Regions from separate parts of the Homo sapiens genome. Here region 2 is linked to region 1. Evidence: promoter capture Hi-C in human tissues and cell types (Jung and others, 2019). All regions are on one chromosome and are shown on one strand. Each heading gives the region's core, a stretch centred on a gene start or on the middle of the fragment in contact. The rest is flanking DNA. Distances are from core to core; before and after follow the strand shown.

Region 1 (4,894 bases), core at 1,280-3,779:
CCTTTCCTGAGCACCTCCTGCAGGTCAGGCCACCCAGCAAACACCTTTGGTGGTACTCTCAACCAATCAAAGGGGAGGTATCATTACTCTCTTTTACAGGTTGGGAAACTGGGGCACAGAGAAGTTAAACCAAAGGTTGTTTGGTAAAGTGACTGGCAGGCGGGGACGTGAAACTTTGTGCTTTCAAAAATACATATACATGTTTTACAGAATTACAAGTGCTCAGCTTAGTGAATTTGGTAAATGCACAGCCCTGTGTAACTAGCATTCAAATTAAATTCTAGAATGTTCTGTGAGGATGGAAAAGTTCTGGAGTTGTGCTGTCCAATATGGCACCATCAGTGTCAGGTAGCTCCTGAGTACTGGAAACATAGCTGGTGTGACTGGGACATGGAACTTGTAATTTTATTTGAATTTAATCATAACTACCATATTGGACAGCGCAGGGCTAGGACATTTCAGCACCTTAGACAGCTCCCCTGTAGTAAGTAGCCCTTCCAGGAAAGGTGTCCCAGCCTAATTTTTTTTTTTTTTTTTTAAGACGTAGTTTTCCTCTTTTGTCCAGGCTGGGGTGAAATAGTGCAATCTTGGCTCATTGGAAGCTCTGCCCCCCGGATTCAAGCGCTTCTCCTGCCTCAGCCTCCCGAGTAGCTGGGATTATAGGCACCTGCCACCATGCCAGGATAATTTTTGTATTTTTAGTAGAGACAGGGTTTTGCCACGTCAGCCAGGCTGGTCTCGAATTCCTGACCTCAGGTGATCTACCCTCCTTGGCCTCCCAAAGTGCTAGGACTACAGGCATGAGCCACCGCGCCCAGCCCAGCCTCTTCTTGAACTTCATGAAAATTATGTGCCCTGTTATAGTCTGAGGCCTCAGCTCCATGCTATCAGGCTTCAAGGACAGCAGCCACAGGATACCTCTATGAGGACTATGTGAGAACAAAGTGAGATGTCAAGTGGGTGAGTGCTCTAAAGAGAAAAATTGATCATTCCTGCTGTACTGAATTCAGGTCCTAACAGAGACTCCCAGGAGGAAGGGCAGATGTGGGGCCTTTTGTTCCTTCCCACGAGACAAGAGTACTGAACAGACTATTTGGGCCCTGATTTGCCCATTACCCACACCTTCCTCCCCATCTTATTCCTAAGCTGAGAATGGCAAGTATGATGGTAGAGGCTGTCAGATCTAGGATCAAATCTTCACCACTCTCTGCTGTAATTCTGGGCTGCTCACCTCCCTTGGGGTCTGTTTCCTATCTATAAAATGGAACCTCCTGTGAAAAGCTTTTTGCTCATTAAGGAATGAATTACATTTAACAAAGTTTTGGATTTTATTAATAAAATGTATGGACATGTTTTTCTCTTGTTAGATAGGTACCTTTGTAACATTCTTGGTTTTCTCTCTGAGCCTACAAAGCTGACATTTGCTGCTTGTGTGTTTTTTGTTTGGTTTTTGAGACAGAGTTTCGCTCGTTGCCCAGGCTGGAGTGCAAAGGCACGATCTTGGCTCACCACAATCTCTATGTCCTGGGAACAAGCGATTCACCTGCCTCAGCCTCCCGAGTAGCTGGGATTACAGGCATGCATCACCACGCCCAGCTAATTTTTTGTATTTTTAGTAGAGACAGGGTTTCACCATGTTGGCCAGGCTGGTCTCATAGGCCCAACCTCAGGCCTGCCTCAGCCTCCCAAAATGCTGGGATTACAGGCATGAGCCACTGCGCCCAGCCTGCTGCTTGTGTTTTACAGAAGAGTTTGCCAACCATACTCTGATGGCCTGGGCAGTGATGGAGGGTTTAAAGAGAGGGGTGGCCTCATCAGTCAGGGGTAAAAGACCCTCTCTACCCAATGCTGAGTGGAGAGTGATGAAGGGGGCAACGGGAGGCAGGAGAACCATGAGGAGGTAGTGGTGTAGAGCAGGCTGAGGAAGGCAGGGCAGTGGAATGAAGGCAGCAGAAGCAGGGTGTGTTTTAGAGGGATATCTGGTTTCTGAAAACATCTAGCCCTGTACCTGCCTCCTGTGCCACTGTGACTGCCACCCCACCATCTACCTCACTCGGCACCTCAGGCTCCATCACCTCACCCTCTCTCTGTCTCCACATTGCTTGGCCTCAGCAGCTACAGGGTAGGGGGCACCCGAGGTCTCAGTCCTGGGCAGAGGTCCCAGGTTGCTAGTGACTCTTGCAGAGACAGGTTTGTTTCCAGGGCCACTGCCGCCTTCTCTTTGATCCTACACATCAGTGTGGCTCTAGGCTCCTGGCTTTGACTTCAGGGGCCCAGGCCTGGGATTCTGGAAAATGAAGTATGGCTAATGAGCACAGGCAGCAAGGAGTGGGTGTGGTCATGGCCATGCATACAGGCACTCCTCGGACAAACAGATACACCCAGGCCAGGCTCTTCACAAGCCTAGGTCCCACCCATGGCCTCCCCTTCCCAAATTAAAAATATACATCCACACAAACACCTGTACATGAATTTTCACAGCAGTAGCATTTATAATATCAGAGAGTTGGAAACAACCCCAATGTCTATGAACTAATGAGTAAACAAACTGTGGTATATCCATACAATGCAGTATTATTCAGCCATAAAGAGGAATGAAAAACTGATACATGCTACAACATGGATGAACTCTGAAAACGTTCAGTGGTAAAAAGCCAGACACAAGAAACCACATATTGTATGACTCCATTTATATGAAGTGTCCAGAAGAGGCAAATCTAGACATATAACGTGGATTAGTGGTTGCCAGAGGCTGGAGGAAGAGCGAATAGGCAGTGATGATAAGGGGTATGAGGGATACTCACACACCTGAGGTCACACCTGCACATACAGGTGGCATCAACACATGCAGGACTGTCGCGGTTGCTTCTGGACCGAACGAAGGACGACGAATGCAGAAATGAGACAGACAAAAGGATCTGTTTGAAAGAAGGGGTCAGGGGGCTCCTTGATATTAGGGAACAGGGACCTGAGCTTTTACAGCCCTTCATATTTATTAGGTAGAGTGAATAGGGAGGAAGGGATAACTGTCGGTCAGCTATTTGATTTAACACAGGCCCACATGATTCCTTTCTTTGTTCAACAGGTTCTGGATGTTCCTGTGGATAACCTCAAGGAGCACGGGACCTGGGACATGACTGCCCCCAGCATTCCTTCTGGCGGCAGACAGAGTTTGTCAGTTCGCCAACATCCTGCTTTCATGAGAACAGTTTGCTGTTTGCTCACAGAGCCTCCAGTGGTATACTGAGTTGGTCACGACCCTCATTCCTTCGGCCTCCAACATCTCCCCTTTTGTTTTTGCATTAATTGAATAAAGGTAATTTCAGGCTGTGCAGCTTTCAATTGCCGGTTGGTGGTTCACCCGATCCTATAGACTATGAGCAAAAAAACAGAGACATAACAACATTATTCTTGTAATTATTATAAAAGAGACATTGAAGTTATGTTTAAGGTAGGTCCAAGGGTTGAGGCTTTTTTTTTTTTTTTTTTTTTTTTGAGATGGAGTCTCGCTCTGTCACCCAGGCTGGAGTGCAGTGGCGCCATCTTGGCTCACTGCAAGCTCTGCCTCCCGGGTTCACGTCATTCTCCCACCTCAGCCTCCTGATTAGCTGGGACTACAGGTGCCCGCCACCACACCCAGCTAATTTTTTTGTATTTTTAGTAGAGATGGGGTTTCACTGTTTTAGCCAGGATGGTCTCGATCTTCTGACCTCGTGATCTGCCTGCCTCGGCCTCCCAAAGTGCTGGGATTATAGGCGTGAGCCACCGCACCCGGCCAGGGTTGAGGCTTTCTAAGCCCTGCTGGAATTCTGTTTAAGCTTCTAAAAAGGGCTGTTATTTTTGAGTTTGCTTATTCAAGTTAAGAATTTTACTCTGTAAGTTACTGATATCAAAAGTAATATTGGATGTAAAAGCTCCCTGCAAATGAGCTTTTACAAGGTTCCATGGATATTCACTTTGGTTCTATTCCAAATTGGTCACACAAATATGAATATGATTGAAATGACAGTGCAATTGCTGCTACAATTGCAAACTTTGTACCTGCTTTCCCAGCCACAGAACAGTAGCCTTTAACATTGCTACCTTTGTTTGTAATTCGGTATTAATTTTATTTTGAAGCATCCATGCCTGGTTGGCTGTACATGTCCAATTTTCTACATATTGGGCTGTTTGAATAGAACTATGTAGTGCTACTGAGGACACTACAACCGAGGTTATTAGTGTGACTAAGGAGATTACAGTAAAAATTACTATGTTTAAGGCTTTACGTGCACGATGAGTGAGCTGGGTAAGAAGGAGTTTTACAAAATGTAAAGCAGGGGTGGCAGCCCAAGGTTTGCACAAATTGACAGGGATCCATAATCCAGGGATACGACCCAGAATTATTAGAGTGGATATGTTGTGTGTTTGTATTGTGCTATGATTGAGGCAGTGATACAGTTGACAAGAGTCACAAGTCAACTGGGTGATGTTTACGTGGAGTTGGTCCTTCTTAGATGCTAGAAAAACATAGGGATTAAAAACACAAACTGGCCGGGCATGGTGGCTCACGCCTGTAATCCCAGCACTTTGGGAAGCCAAGGCGGGTGGATCACGAGGTCAGGAATTCAAGAGCAGCCTGGCCAAGAAGGTGAAATCCCGTTTCTATTAAAAATACAAAAAACAAAAAATAGCCTGGCACGGTGGCGGGTGCCTGTAATCCCAGCTACTCGGGAGGCTGAGGCAGACAATTGCTTGAACCCGGGAGGCAAAGGTTGCAGTGACCCGAGATTGCGCCACTGCACTCCAGCCTGGGCGACAGAGTGAGACTCCATCTCAAACAGTTAACAACAACAACAAAAAACCCACAAACCGTAAATTGAGTGGTAATATTTTTTACAAAGGTGATATTAAA
Region 2 (4,894 bases), core at 1,466-3,965, 230 kb before region 1:
AACCCATTAATAACCTCCAAAGCCTGTCTCCCCATTAGAAAACTGATCAAACACACTGGTCCCACATACCAACCAAATCCAAAATATGTAGCATCAGGGCTCATTGGGGAAACTGACTTCCCCAATGCCACTCATTCCTGCACCCTGACCTTTGCCTGGGACGTCTGGAATGTAGGACACCCTGCAGCCCCTGCGTATCCCTCCTGGCTGCTCAGGCCCCACAGCCACCACCTTCCCGCTATCTTCCACCAATGCTGTCCTCTGGGATGGGAAGAATCACAGTATGGCTACCAAAAGGCCACTCATGGGAGGATTCTGGCCCCAAAACTTGGCTAGACTCAAAAGACTCTCAAGCTCCTTCCAAACCAAAGCTAGCTGTGTCTGTGAAAAGCTGGAAATGCCAAACCAAACTTTGGGTAAGTCTCTGCCAACTCAAAAGCTAAAACACTTCCAAAAATCATCATCACTTATAATCCATGGACCCACAGTCTACTTTCCCTAGCAGCATCTTATACCAGATGTGTGCCAGGGAACCACAAACCCAGAAAGCCCTTCACACCATGCCTTTCCCTGTTTGCATATGCTGAGCCCTTCACCACCAGGTCTGACAACTCCCTGATAAGCCTTCTCAAACCCTTTGTACCTCCCTGCAGCACATTAAGGTCTCCCTTATTTCCCCTTCCCACCCTCTCCCACCTAGGCCCTAGAGACTACACACCACAACCCCAGTTTTTCTGCTTCTGGAGTTCTGCCCTCGGGCCCTTCGGGCGGCACCCCCTAGAGAACTCTAGGACCCATCCACCAGATGCAACCAACATCATAAAAGCAACTGAGGGCACACATGGGAGAACAACTCCAACAGCCCCCCTCAGCCTCATGTACCAGTAGAGCGCACAGTATGGTCCTTGGTGTACTTCACCCGCTGGTGCGCCTCTACACAGGTCTCACACAGAGGCTCCGAGCACTCCACACAGTAGCTGGTGGCTGGGGCATTATCCTCACAGCTAGTGCAGCACTGCCAGACAAAGGCAGGGTCAGAGAAGGCAAGACAACTTGATAGATCCACGTTTACATCCCAGAAAATACAACCGGAGATTTAAGATTGGTCCCTTGACCCAACCTAGGCAGCCCACCCAGAGCCTTGGGAAAGTGGAGTAACAGCCTGGAGCTGGTGCCAAGCTCCTCCTGCGCAGATGCCCCCTCCCCAGAAACCTCCTTGTGGTTGCTGAGATAGGACGCACCTGGTTCGCATCCTGGGCGTCGGTGGCAGCCTTGCTGCCACTATCACGCATGAAATAATTCTCCACGATGTCTTTGGAGAAGCACTGTTGCTTGCACACGGGACAGTCCACCACTTCGAGAAGCAGGGATGTGGGAGACTGTTACAAGTTCCCACCCAGGTTATGGCCCCCACCATTCCCCTGCTGGGTGGGCCCCCGACCATTATCCCGCAGCGAACCAGCCCCTCCCCTCCCCGAGCCTTCTTTTCTCCAACTTTAGTCAGATGTCCCATCTCAGCGGCCAGCACAAACCCACGTTCGTATGCAGGACCCAGAAAGTATTTCCCGTGCCCTGTCCGGGCCCCCATCCTCTCGCCCAGGTGGCATCCTCATCTCTGCACCCAGTCGGAATCAAAGGCAGAGAGTAGGGGGAGGGGTGGCACCGATCACTTCGTACTTACCGGTGCCGTCGCCCGCCGCCCCGCCGTCCCCCGAGCTGTTGGCGGCGGCGGGGGCCGCGGGCCCTAAGCAGGCACTACAGGCCGAGTGCAAACAGGGCAGCAGGCGGGGCTCCCTCTCGGGTCGCAGGCGCTCTCTGCACACGCCGCAGTGCTCCAGCAGCTCCAGCGCCTCGGCGCCGCCCCCCGCGGGCGACGACGCCGCGGCTGAGGCAGAGGCCGAGGCTGCGGCCGAAGGGGCGGTGGAGCGCTTTTCGCCGCCAGCGGAGCCCTCGCCCGGGCCCGGGCTGCCAGAGGCGGCCGAGGCCGCTGCTGCCGAGGCTGCCGCCGCGGAGGCCGCCATTCACACGCCGCCGGGGGCGCCCAGGGGGGGAGGAGGGGCGCGGGGCCCGCCGCGCAGGCGCAGACGCGCTCGCCGCCAACTGCTGGGCCGCTGCCGCCGCCGCCGCCGCGAGGCCGAGCGCCGCCACGCGCCTCCTGGGCCGCTGCCCGCCGCGCGCGGGACGCTGCTACGGCACGGCCAACTGCTGCCTGCTCGCCTCCCGAAGGCGCCGCCCGCGCTTCTTCCTCAGCCGCCGCCGAAACCCGCACCACGCGCCACAAGCACAAGCACAACCGCTCGCCCGCGCGCCCGCTCGCAGAAAGAGCCGAGGCCGGGGGGCGGGACAGAAATAACTGGCGCCGACGCCGCCGCGCACGCGCATTGGGCGCCTCACGCCCGGGGGCGGGGCCCAGGCCGGTCGGTGCGGGAGAGGCCGCCAGTACGCACGCGCCAACTCCTAGTCCTTCCACCACCGCCAACCCCACGTCGGTGGGGCTCTTGTGGGGGCGGGGCGGGGCCTCTGTGACGTCACTGCCGCAATTGAATCCGCCAGTGGGGTATGCGAACCTTTATAGAGTGTGATTCCCCTCTCAGCTCCACCTCCAGACCACACAGAAGCGGGCCGCTGTGCGCCCAAGCGCATGGGCAATCCGTCCCTCTTCCTCAACCCGCGTCTCTTCGCCGCCGTAGAGTCGTCTCCAGCCTCTGCGTCACTAAGAGTTCGGGATAGGGGGCAGGGCCGATGGAGAAGTAGGCGGGGCCAAGACCGAGTGAAGGGCTGTGTCCAGGGAGAGGGGAGGAGAGTCTCCATCCCAAGAGGGAGGAAGCTCCTGTGTGAGCTCGGGTGCTGACTTTTGGATTTTAACCACGCTATAGTTAAACTTGAGAAACACAGAAACTTGACTGAATCAAATGTAGATCACAGCCGGGCGCCGTGGCTCATACCTGTAATCCCACCACTTTCTTAGGCGAGTCGGGAAGCTCCGTTTAGCCCAGGAGGCCGAGGCAGCAGTGAGGCGGGATTGTGCCACTGCACGCCAGCCTAGACCACAGATGGAGAAAAATGTGGCCGGGCGCGGCGGCTCACGCCTGTAATTCCAGCACTTTGGGAGGTCGAGGCGGTTGGATCTTAAGTCAGGAGTTCGAGAGCAGCCTGGCCAACGTGGTGAAACCCCGTCTCTACTAAAAGTACAAAAAGTAGCCGGGCGTGGTGGCAGGCGCCTGTAATCCCAGCTACTCGGGAGGCTGAGGCAGGAGAATCGCTTGAACCCGGGAGGCGGAGGTTGCAGTGAGCCGAGATCGTGCCATTGCACTACAGCCTGGGAGAAAAGAGTGAAACTCCATCTCAAAAGAGGAGAGAAAGGTTTTTGTGTTTGTTTTGAGACGGAGTTTTGCTCTGTTGCCCAGGCTGGAGTGCAGTGGCACGATCTCGGCTCGCTGCAACCTCCGCCTCCCGGGTTCAAGCGATTCTTCTGCCTCAGCCTCCCGAGTAGCTGGGATTACAGGGGCCTGCCATCACGCCTGGCTAATTTTTGTATTTTTAATAGAGACGGGGTTTCACCACGTTGGCCAGGCTGGTCTCGAACTCCCGACGTCAGATGATAGACCCACTTTGGCCTCCCAAAGTGCTGGAATTACAGGTGTGAGCCACCACGCCGGGCCCCCCAACCCCCCATCAAGAAAAAAAATATATATATATATATACACATATATATAAATCACAAGAGGCTAAAGAGCAATGAGTCTGTGAAATCCCACCCAGCCCCCCAAGGCATCCCCTCCCCATGTTTTCGTCAGCAGCTACCCTGACTTTGATGCTTTTCCAGATGGGGAAACTGAACCTCAACAGTGGGGAATCCCAAGGAGGGAAGGAAGCAGGTCCATGTGGGGAGAATCCTGTCTGAGGTGGAAAGTAGGGTTTGTGTGGGGAAAATCCTGTCTGAGGGAAAGAGGGTGTGTGTGCGGAGGGGAACCCTGTCTGAGGAGGGAAGCAGGGTCTGTGTGGGGAGAATCCTGTCTGAGGAGGGAAGCAGCGTCTGTGTGGGGAGAATCCTGTCTGAGGAGGGAAGCAGGGTGTGTGTGGGGAGAATCCTGTCTGAGGAGGGAAGCAGGGTGTGTGTGGGGAGAATCCTGTCTGAGGAGGGAAGCAGGTTCTGTGTGGGGAGAATCCTGCCTGAGGAGGGAAGCAGGGTCTGAGTGGGGAGAATCCTGTCTGAGGGAAGCAGGGTCTGTGTGGGGAGAATCCTGTCTGAGGAGGAAAGTAGGGTGTGTGTGGGGAAAATCCTGTCTGAGGGAAAGAGGGTCTGTGTGGGGAGGGGAGCCCTGTCTGAGGAGGGAAGCAGGGTCTGTGTGGGGAGAATCCTGTCTGAGGAGGGAAGCAGGGTGTGTGTGGGGAGAATCCTGTCTGAGGAGGGAAGCAGGGTGTATGTGGGGAGAATCCTGTCTGAGGAGGGAAGCAGGGTGTGTGGGGGGAAAATCCTGTCTGAGGGAAAGAGGGTCTGTGTGGGGAGGGGAATCCCTGTCTGAGGAGGGAAGCAGGGTCTGTGTGGGGAGAATCCTGTCTGAGGAGGGAAGCAGGGTGTGTGTGGGGAGAATCCTGTCTGAGGAGGGAAGCAGGGTGTGTGGGGTGAGAATCCTGTCTGAGGAGGGAAGCAGGGTCTGTGTGGGGAGAATCCTGTCTGAGGAGGGAAGCAGGGTCTGTGTGGGGAGAATCCTGTCTGAGGAGGGAAGCAGGGTCTGTGTGGGGAGAATCCTGCCTGAGGAGGGAAGCAGGGTCTGTGTGGGGAGAATCCTGTCTGAGGGAAGCAGGGTCTGTGTGGGGAGAATCCTGTCTGAGGAGGAAAGTAGGGTTTGTGTGGGGAAAATCCTGTCTGAGGGAAAGAGGGTCTGTGTGG

What was found. The method cuts DNA at HindIII sites, captures the fragments that hold promoters and counts their contacts. A contact is called where the count stands out against the background at its distance.
Region 2: a contact is called between the fragment with the promoter of TRIM28 here and a fragment that was not itself captured in region 1, in 1 of the 25 tissues and cell types used here (spleen).

Annotation. Positions count from the first base shown.
Region 1 is chr19:58,313,228-58,318,121 of GRCh38, reverse strand. ERVK3-1 (endogenous retrovirus group K3 member 1) reads right to left here. Exons shown (of 4, transcript NM_001396080.1): 4 at 1,310-3,374. The coding sequence ends at 3,339. It overlaps ZNF8-ERVK3-1 (ZNF8-ERVK3-1 readthrough (NMD candidate)), which reads right to left. Exons shown (of 7, transcript NR_144447.1): 7 at 2,465-3,374. It overlaps LOC105372480 (a long non-coding RNA gene), which reads left to right. Exons shown (of 3, transcript NR_144444.1): 3 at 3,086-3,172. Among named protein-coding and RNA genes, the nearest start is that of ERVK3-1, 10 kb to the right of the region's middle. The HindIII fragment of the contact is 5,451 bases long and covers 1-4,894 here.
Region 2 is chr19:58,541,885-58,546,778 of GRCh38, reverse strand. TRIM28 (tripartite motif containing 28) reads right to left here and starts at 2,715. Exons shown (of 17, transcript NM_005762.3): 1 at 1,682-2,715; 2 at 1,242-1,354; 3 at 883-1,015. The coding sequence starts at 2,021. It also overlaps the pseudogene RN7SL525P. RefSeq lists silencers at 1,695-1,984, 2,005-2,164, 2,245-2,454 and enhancers at 2,575-2,884, 3,036-3,540. The HindIII fragment of the contact is 31,195 bases long and covers 1-4,894 here.